2 separate regions of the Homo sapiens genome follow, and region 1 is linked to region 2. Evidence: promoter capture Hi-C in human tissues and cell types (Jung and others, 2019). All regions are on one chromosome and are shown on one strand. The core of a region is centred on a gene start or on the middle of the fragment in contact, and the rest is flanking DNA. Distances in the headings are between cores, read along the strand shown. Region 1 overlaps TMEM72-AS1 (TMEM72 antisense RNA 1). Region 2 holds the start of ZNF485 (zinc finger protein 485).

Region 1 (4,935 bases), core at 2,263-4,762, 1.3 Mb after region 2:
CACTTTAAACAAAATTTCGGCAAATGAAATCAAATCCAACAGTATGAAAGATCATAACCAAATGAGTTACATGCCAGAAATGCAAGGTTGATTTATAATTTGAAAATCAATTAATGTGATTCAGCATATTTTGAAATTAAAAAAGAGAAACCACAGAAGTGTCACAATAGACATAGTAAAAGCATTTTCAAAAATCTAACATGCATTCTGGACATAAACTCTCTCAACAAACTAGGAGTAGAAGGAGCTTCCTCAACCTGGTACACGGCCTCTACAAAACCTTCTGTCCACATTACCATTAATACTAAAAGACTTAATGCTTTTCCCCTAAGATGAAGAACAAGACAAAACTATGTACTCTTACAACTTCTTTTCAACATTTTTCAACATTTTCTAGCAAATACAATACAGCAAGAGAAAGAAATAAAAGGCATTGAGATTAGAAGGGAGAAGTAAAACTGTCTTTATTCATAGATAACAGGATTTTCTATATTGAAAATTCAACGTGGCCTACACAAAAAGATATTAGAATTAACAAGTGAGTTTAATAAGGTTGCAGGATAGAGGATCAATATACAAAAACCAATTGTTTTATATTTTCACTAGCAATGACAATCAGAAATTAAAATTTAAATCTAGTATCATTTAAAATAGCATCAAAAATATGAAATACTTAGAGATACATTTAACAAATGATATGAATGAACTGTACACTAAAAACCATAAAACATTGCTCAGAAAAAAATTTTAAAGAGCTCAAAAAATGGAAGATACGTTGCATTCATGGATCAGAAAATATAATACCACTAAGATGTCAATTTGCCCTCAAATTGATATAAAGATCAAAAGACCCCCTCCCTGTACCCTAGATTCCTCTCTACCTCCTGGCATCTCCACTTGAATATCTAATACCACTAATATGTCACTTTGCCCCCAAAATGCAAAAAAAAAAAAAAAATGAAACTTCTAGAAGAAAATATAGAGAGAACTATTTGTGAGAAGCTTACTGAGGCGATTCATTCAATGAAATGCCACTCAGCAGTAAAAAGAAATGATCAGTCCCCATATAAGCCCCCAAAGCAGGGAGTAGGGGGGTTTGTAGAAACTGACAAAGTTATTCTGAAAGACAAATGTCCCTAAATAAGAAAAGCTACACATGGCCCAGACACATAAGAGCAACTGAGATTTGACAAAGGTGCAAAGGTAATCCAACGTGGGAAAGATAGTCTATTCCAGTCTATCAAATGGAAACAATTTGATATCCATATGAATCAAAATGAATTAAATTCATATTTTGCAGCACCTACCAAAATTCACTCAAAACAAAACAATGAATCTTCTATAAGCATATATAGGAGGAACTATTTGTGATAAGCTAATGTGGTGATTCATTCAGTGGAATGCTACTCAGCAGTAAAGAGGAATGAACCATCGATACAAGCAACATGGAAAAAAGTCATAATCATTATGCTGACTGAAAGCAGCCAGACAAAAAAAAGGGTTTTTGTTAGATGCTATTTATATAAAATTCGAGCAGACTAAGCTATACTGATGGAAAGCAGATATTTTGTGGAGAGGCTCCCCATGTGCAGAGACGCAATGGGGAGGGCAGAATGGAGGACTAGAAGGGACAGGAGGCAATGTGTGGGGTGACGGATAGGGCCACTATAGTGATTGTGGTGGTGATTTCATAGATGTAGACATATGTCGGAACTTAGATCGTGCACTTTAAACATGTGCAATTTATTCTGTGTTGTTTATACCTAAACAAAGCTGTAAACATTCATAAAGAAGGAAGACAGGAAGGAAGGAGGGAAAGAAGGAAGGAAGGAAGGGAGGGAGGGAGGGAGGGAGGAAGGGAGGGAGGGAGGGGAGACGGAGAGGCAGGGAGGAAGGAAAGGGAGGGACAGAGGAATTTACACCCTTGTGGAAGGAAGGAAGGAGGTAGAAAGGGAGGAAGGGAAGGAGAAAAGGATTCACTCCCTTTTGTCACGTGTTCAGACTCTCAGAAAATATCACTGAGCGTTTTCTCTACAGAAGCTTTCTCCACCTGTCCTTTGGGACACCGTGTGCCTGTAGTTTTCCTCATACTTTCCTGGATGGTCTTTCTCCTTCCCCCAACATTGCCCCAACCTCTCAACTGGCAGCGCCCTAAAACTCAGTCTTCTTTTCTCTAACTCGCCTCCTTTGGTGAGCTCACTGGATTTCATAGCTCTGAATCTCATCTCTACACTGACCACCCTCAAATGTCTCCCTGTAGCTCAGACCTCCTCCCTGAACCCTAGAGTCCTCTCTACCTCTTGGCATCGTTGCTTAAATATCTAGTAGAGATCTCAAACTTGGCATTTTCAAAATTCCCACAAACTATGCTTCCCACTGTCTCCCCATCTTAGTAATTCCCACTGCTCGAGTTAAAAATAGCACACACACAACAAAACCAAAAAAACACAGAATTACCCTTGGCCCCTCTCTTTTTCTCGTTCCCCACTTTCAAATCCTTTGACAAATTTGTCAAGCACATCTTCAAAATTTACCCAAAATCCAACCACTTCTCACCACCTATATAGCTACAGACCCAGCTCAAGCCGGAGTGATTTAGTGTCTGGTCCGATCCCCGCCGCCTTCACCCCTGCCCGTCACTGGCCCTCAATAGAGCAGCTAGAATCTCTCTCACACACCAACTCTTCCAGCTTTTTTTTTTTCCTCTTTTTACAACATTGGCCAGAACCTCAAACACTGTGCCAAACGGAAACAGTTAGAATGGATGTCTTAGTCCATTTGGGCTGCTATAAAAAATACCCTAAATTGGGTGGCTTATAAACAACAGAAATTTATTGTTCACAGTTCTGGAGGCTGGGAATTCCAACATCAAGACACTAAAATATTTGGTGTCTAGTGAGGGCATGCTTTCTGCACACAGTCTCACTGTGTCCTCATACAGTAGAAGGGATGAGGGGGTCTCAGGCCCTAACCCCATTCCTGAGGATTCTGCCCCCATGACCTAATCATCTTCCAAAGGCCGCACCTTTTAATACCATTATCTTGAAATTTTCAATATATGAATTTGGGGAGGCCTCAGACATTCAGACCATAGCATTGGACATCCTTATTTTGTTTGTAATTTCAAAGGAAATGGGTCTTATGTTTCTCCATTAAATATTAGGTTTGTGGTAGGTTTTTTTGAATATAACTTTTGCCAAGTTAGGGAAATTTCCTCCTGTTCCTAGTTTTCTATGCTTTTTTAATCATAAAAGTTGTTGAATTTCATAAAGTACTATTTCTGTATTAATTTTAATTGCCATGTAATTTTTCTTCAGTAGTCTTTTAATATGGCAATATTTTTAACAAAAGATTTTATGACAATTTTTCCAATGATGAGTCACTCTTGTATTCCTAGGTGGCATCCTACTTAATTATAATATATTCTTAACAAAAGATTTGATTCACTTAGCCAAGATTTAGTTTTTCCTTCAATGTTGATATACTAATCAATTGAAGTCTTCTTCTCTTTGTATTTATTGTTCTTATCTGATACTTGAGTTATGAATTACATTAGACTCATAAAATGAGCTACACAACTTTCTCTTCCCATCTTACGGAACCACTTATAAAGATTAGCAATTAACTGTTCCTGAAAATTTAGTAAGATTCATCTATAACCCATCCGGGCTTGGGGATTTGAGGAGGGGAAATCTTTGAATACCACCTTACTTTTCTTAGTAGTTATTAGTTTGTATAACTTTTCTAATATCTTCATCATTAAGCTTTGCCTCTTAGTCTTCCAAAACTGTTTCTATTGAATTCAGTTTTTCAAGTTCATTAAAATATAATTGAATGCACTGTGAGTGTTCAAGTAACAGGAAAATGCTGATCCTTTTAGCTATGTTCACACATTAATCTGGGCTTACTTGAATAGGCCACTCTTCCTCTCAGTTGAAACAGAAAATCGTGTTGTTTGATAACATTGTTTCCCTACATCATTCATGTCCCTAGAATTATGTAGGACAAATAACATTTCCAATAGATTGTGTACCCCACATCCCCCCTTAAAAGTCTATATTGTTTTAATAGAAATTCCCAGAGCCCATGGCTTGCCTGGCTTCTTTCTATGATGAAATGTGGGTGCATCCTTGACAGCCTTCATCATAGCCTTAGTACTGCTCATCACCAAGGGCTGCTGCTATGGCTCCCACATTCTTGGGATGCATCCCTCCCCAGTCAGTGCCTACTGCATTGCTCAAATAATAATGTTGCTATATTGATTACAATTAAACATGTTATCTCTACTGTGTTACAGTAAATCACAGATTCACCAGAGAGAACAGTTACCTAGGACTCCCAGTTAACAGTAATATCTTTCTGGCATACCTCCAGTTTGGGGAATGGCAAGCTGAAACCATAATAACTATTATTCACCGAGCGCCTACAATAAGCCTGACATAAATTGGCACCTGAGATGTGCTACCTAGAAGCTTTATTAAAACCACAGAAGGAAAGCCTTAGTACCTTTGGTTCATTTCTTTTTCTTTTAAAGACAGGGTCTCATTCTGTTGCCCAGGCTGGAGTGCAGTGGTGCAATCATAGCTCCCTGCAGCCTCAACCTCCTGGGCTAAAGCGATCCTCCCACCTCAGCCTCCTGGGTAGCTGGGACCACAGGTGTATGCCACCATGCCCAACATTTTTTTGTATTTTTTGTAGAGATAGGGGTTTCACCATCTTGCCCAGGCTGGTCTTGAACTCCTGGCCTCAAGCCATCTTTCCACCTCAACCTCCCAAAGCATTGGGGTTGCAGGCATGAGCTACCACTCCCGGCTTGCTTCATTGATGAAGAAAATATTGATCACATGGGTTAAGTGACTTGCCTGAGGCCACTTAGAGAGTAAGTTAGAGCAGGGATTCAAATTCGGATCCATCCATTTTTTAACTTCCCACTGA
Region 2 (5,309 bases), core at 1,774-4,273:
ACATATGTTTTTCCTAGAAAATAATACATTTGTTAAAACAGATTCAACCTACTTTCATTTTCTATGTCAGCAAATAGTGAGGAAATAATGTTTTTAGTGTTCTAGGTGATGTACTTTTCTAACATGCTTTTTATTTGTATGAAATAAAAACAGGATTATTTGGAAACAAATAGCTATCCAAAGGCACATAAAATATGTCTCTCATACTTTCCGTATCAGTTTCTGGTGGCAGATGTCAACCTAAGCAGTACATTAGAACCACTTGGGGGCTTTAAAAAATCCGAATGCCAGGACCACACTTAGGGCAATTAATTCAGAATCTCTGAAGCTGGGACCCAGGTACCTTCACTTTGCTTTTTTTTTTTTTTGGTATTTATTTCATTCTATTTTCTGTATAACTTTAAGTACATAAAGATTTATTTCCACAGGATCAGGAAATGGGTAGAAATCACAGGACAATCTCTCTTCCCACCAAAAAAGTTGCGTATTTTGGTAAGTGTTTGTCCTAGAGGGAAAAAACTGAAATTTACATTAGCAGTGCTGTGCAAGATTCTTACATAAATCAAGACCTAAAAGCAGCTTGCAGTGGAGGTTTTGGTCCCCTGTTCAGGTGCTTGGACAGAAGCCATAAGCTGGTGAGTGTGACAGGGAAAAGGAGGCAGTGAAGACAGGTGACAGGCACCTAGCAGGGAAGGAGGATTCAGGAATACCAGACTCCTTGGAATGGAGTGTTGTTTTTCCTTTTTTTTTTTTTCATCTCTGTAGGAAGGTGCTGGGCAGGGATCCCAGAGAAAGAAAGGGTTGAATACTCCTTTAACTGCCCTGGATGAAGGGCACTGCTACAGCAGCTAGTACCGGAGACTCTCCTATCTCATGGTTGAGGCAGACCCAGGATAGAATAGTGAATAAAAGGAATGCTTATAGGAAACAATTTTGCGTGGAATGCTAGATGGCCAAGCCTCAGCCTTTGGTCCAGTGCAATCCTTGCCTCACTTGTCAATAGTGAAAAATTAGTTTGGTTAGAAGAACCATCTGGAAACACACCAGCTTCTGCTACCTTCATGCTCATTGTCAGAAAAAGATTAACCAGTGTGAACGTTCTGATCTGTTAATTCCTGGGACTGTTTTCTTCCCAGTGGACTGTTTGTTGGTAGAATAACCCCCAAAGCTCAAAGCTAAAATGCATCATTAGTCCTCGTCGGCAGTTGAGCTGATTTGGAAAAGCTGCACCTTCCTGCAGAAGATCAACTGACCTGCTATCCCACTGCACATCTGAGGTATATTTCAGTGAAGGCAGGTAGCTGTGCTTTTCAGAGCAGAGAAGCAGTTTTAAGAGCAGAAAGGTAGAGGAAATCTAGAAAAGAACCGTCTTGATACAGATTTATCCCATGGTGTGAAGGGAGGGCAAAGAACCCAGTGGCACTTCGCTTATCCAGCAATTTCTGTCACTGTGGCGACAAACTTCTGCCCATTCCAGAGGGTCTTGAACTGCTCAGGAACTGGGAATTCATTAAAGTCACCGCCTTCTGTAGGAATGAGGACATTCATCTCAGAAGATTTGGCACTGGCTATTTCACAATCCAGGGAATTCTTGCTCAGGTAAGCATGGCAGCCATCTGTTTTGTTGATGGAAATGGTTGGCACTTTACTCATCACCTGAACTTTGACATCCCTACTGTTGATTATCTCCACAATGCCCACCATATCATCGAATACCAGACCAAGTTTCTTACAATTATCTACTGTAATGGAGTTAATTTTGCCCTTGATTTGCAACATCGTGTTGACACACTTGTATATGTAAGCCGCCTGTTTCAGCTCTGTGTCATCAATCACCAGATTGGAAACATTTTCCTGATTTTCCACTCTCCACTTCTTGCCCTCCAGTTCAAGTACAGCTGGCTCCTTCTTTGTGGCTGGTTTGGGGTTTAGGTGCAGAGAATGGCTTGGGGCCACTGCGTACTGGACCACTCTGAGCCTTCAGGGTAGGGTTCTTGTGAGTCTTCATGTCATCAGATACACGTTTCAGGGCATGTGTGATGCTCTCCCCCTGATTAATCTGCGCAAACAGTGCTGAGAGGGAAGCGGACTCATCTGAGCCTGAACTGACAGAGACTAGTGGAGGAGGGGGGCCTGGTGGTGGGGGAGGAGTAGCTGATCCAGCAGAGGGTCCAGATGGCAGTCCACTCAGTTCTTTTGTCACAGGCCCCGTTTTGCTCCAGGCAGTCCGGTGGTATGGAACTCCTTAATGTAAGCCTGCAGCTCTGTGCATATACTTAAATAAGCTTTGACTCAGTCTACATGCTTCTTATCCACATCTTTGTACTCTTTAAGGACTCAGTTTGTATAAAACACAGCAGCATGATTCATTTCTTTCACATAAGGGCCAGGATTGGGAGCCATAGCCACCCAGCCTAGGGCCTGGATACTTTCACTGACAGCTGACAGCTGATTAAACAACTTGCTGCCTCGGTTCTTCTCCCAAAAGGTTATCACTTCTTTGATCTGCTCTGAGATAGGTGCCAACAGATCGGAAAGCTTATTACCTGCCGGCTATTGACACTGAGAAGCTGTAACCAAGAGAGCTCACTCCAACTTCAAAACTGTGTGTACCATCTCCACATCTTTCTGCACGTCTTCCCCAATCTCTTTACTGATCTTCAAGTACTCTGCCACAGGGCAGGCAAGCAGCGAGTCAAATGCCTGCGCATATGGAGCTGCTCCTGCTTTTGAAGGACTATCTCCATATCCACGGTGCATGTCAGAGGTATGGGATACTGCCTCCAGGCGGCCCACTGCCCTGTCCAATTTTTTACCAGATTTTGCATGTCAGTCATAATGTATCACCTCCCGACTGCGATCAGCCGCTCTCCACTTCCCGCACCTTCACTTTTCAAAGATTCCCAGGTGATGCCAACCTGCTCTGCGGATGGAGCCCCTAAGACCCCAAGCGGCCCAGACTACGTTTCCCAGAGGCCTCCGCGGCCTCAGCCACTTCCGCTTCCGGTCCAGCCTGTCTCCGCGTGGTGCGAGCGCTGCACCAGCCCCTGGCTGGTGGTTACTGTCCGAACGGCGTGGTGTGGTCGCTGACTCTCTGGGCGTGCAGCTCCGCAGCCCTGCCGGCTCGGTTCGGTTCGTGAGCGGCCGGGGTCAGGCTGGGTCCCTGAAGCCTCGAGCCCCTGGCGGGTGCTCCCCGCCTTTCCCAGGGGCGGGTCGAGGGGCGAGCCGGGGTGGGAGGGGAAGGCGGCGGTGGGCAGTGCCCACCCGCAGTGGCTGCGCCGTGTGGAGCGACCGCTCGAGGCTGGTGCATCACAGAGCGCTCCAGCCTTGCGCCCCGGCCGACAGATTGGGCCACTGACAAGGCCGTCCCCCGGTGCTGCCAAAAGTGTTTGGCGTGGAGCTGGCTGCAGTCCAGGCCGGATCCCAGCAGCCGTTCCCTTTCCTTTCTTCCCGAGCGTACCCACCTGGACCTGTCTGCCCACCTGTGGAGGGAACGGGCGGGCGGGGACCTGGTCTAGAGGGCAGATTCTAGCTAGGCTAGGGCACGGAGGGACTTCCTCAATTTCCTCTCTTCTTTCCCAGATTGACTTACGCAGGATTCTCAGCCCTTGCCTGGGAGAACAGTTCAGGAGACAGATGGCCCCAAGAGCCCAGATCCAGGCAAGTTTGATTTTTCCATTTCTTGAGAAACCACGTGTTTCAGCGAGGTGGGGTTTATGCCTCTTGCCCGGACAATGCCCTGCCCTGTGTGTGGACAAAGCTACCCGAACCAATCCTGGATGGGTCCCGCGATTTCCGTCCTGTCTACCCATTACGTAGTCATTCACCAAGTAGATTATTGCTACCCATGTTTTCTAGAGTGCTAGAAACAGAAAAGTGCTTTGCAAACTGGCAGACGATGAAAAAAATACACGTTAGCATGTAAAGACGTAGGCCATAAAGACATAGGGTGATAGCAGTGCTCTCTTGACCTTTAGTGTGTGGTAGGGTGGGAGGGGTGGAGTAGTGGGCGCCTTAGTTCTTCCTGAAGAATAAATGAGATTTGCATAATTGCAGAGGATACTAGGGGAAAGCGCTGCCTGAATGAAGTCATTATGGCGGGACCATGAACAAACTGGTCTGAGAAAGTTGGAAACATTCATGGTCTAGAATCCCAGACTGGAGTTTGCTTTTATCCTGGAGAAAACTAGGTTTTGAAGGATTTTGAGAAGCTGATTAAATAATTGGTATTTTGAAAGGAAGTGATAAACATTTGAGTGTCTATTATACAAATAAAATTAAAAAAATTAAAGATCACCTACATTTCTACTGCTCTAAGTCAAGTAATTTCATTTGAAACACACTTTTCATTTTTTTAAGGCTTACTCATTTTTTCTTTTAGTATTTCATAGCCATTCCAATTTGTTCTAGTTTCATTACCACTTTTTGTGGCTTCCTTTTATACTGTGCCTTCAACCAGCCCTGGGACCTTGAGCAAGTTCTTCCAACTCTCTGAACCTTTGTGTCTTTAGCTACGAAATAGATTTTACTTTATATAGTTACGGCAGAAATTTAGAGAGATGATATGTATCTCAGGGTTTAGCACCGTGGCTGGTACATAGTAAGTTGTTACTCTTATGAAAAGCAATTTTTTTTTCTTTTTTAAAAATATTCTGCCCCAGAGTCAGATCATACTCCCTGTAAATTCTCGGATAAAGCTAATCACTTTCCATGTCTTTTCAAAGTTTCTATTCATTTGTTGATTGAATAAAGCTTGAACACTTCTGTGTCAGGCAGTGTTTTTGACTGGGAGGCAGCAGTGACCCACACTGTCCCCCTGGAGCTCACATTAGAGAGGATGCTGACAGTCAGTGCAAACCTCTCCTGCCAGGTGGTGAGAAATCCTGTGAAGAAAAGTGAAATGGGTTTCGAGACTGAGTGGCAGAGGATGGGGTGGAGAAATAGAAGACCTTTTTGATGAGGTGACATGAAGGGTGGAGTGAGCAGAGGCTAGGCCTGGAGGAGGGAGCAGGACAGGCATGCAGGAAGAACCTGCTCAAGGGAGGAGTCGCACATCCCCTGAGCCCTCAGCTTTTACTTGTTGGTTTCCATGAGCACTGTTGGAACTGTCAGAAGCTGGCTTTGACCACCTTGCTTCCTTCTCTTGGGATGCCTCCCTCAGGGGTTCCCGGATGAGCAGAATTGGGTTTGGTTTTGCAGGGACCGCTGACATTTGGGGATGTGGCTGTGGCCTTTACCCGGATTGAGTGGAGACACCTGGATGCTGCTCAGCGGGCCCTGTACAGGGATGTGATGCTGGAGAACTATGG

The links. The method cuts DNA at HindIII sites, captures the fragments that hold promoters and counts their contacts. A contact is called where the count stands out against the background at its distance.
Region 1: a fragment that was not itself captured here is called in contact with the fragment with the promoter of ZNF485 in region 2 in 1 of the 25 tissues and cell types used here (dorsolateral prefrontal cortex).

Annotation. Positions count from the first base shown.
Region 1 is chr10:44,867,552-44,872,486 of GRCh38, forward strand. All of the region lies in intron 2 of TMEM72-AS1 (TMEM72 antisense RNA 1), which reads right to left. Among named protein-coding and RNA genes, the nearest start is that of TMEM72, 41 kb to the right of the region's middle. The HindIII fragment of the contact is 3,983 bases long and covers 1,522-4,935 here.
Region 2 is chr10:43,603,415-43,608,723 of GRCh38, forward strand. It overlaps ZNF485 (zinc finger protein 485), which reads left to right and starts at 3,024. Exons shown (of 5, transcript NM_145312.4): 1 at 3,024-3,132; 2 at 3,583-3,660; 3 at 5,200-5,309. The coding sequence starts at 3,637. It also overlaps the pseudogene CAP1P2. RefSeq lists an enhancer at 2,730-2,779 and a silencer at 3,060-3,339. The HindIII fragment of the contact is 5,082 bases long and covers 600-5,309 here.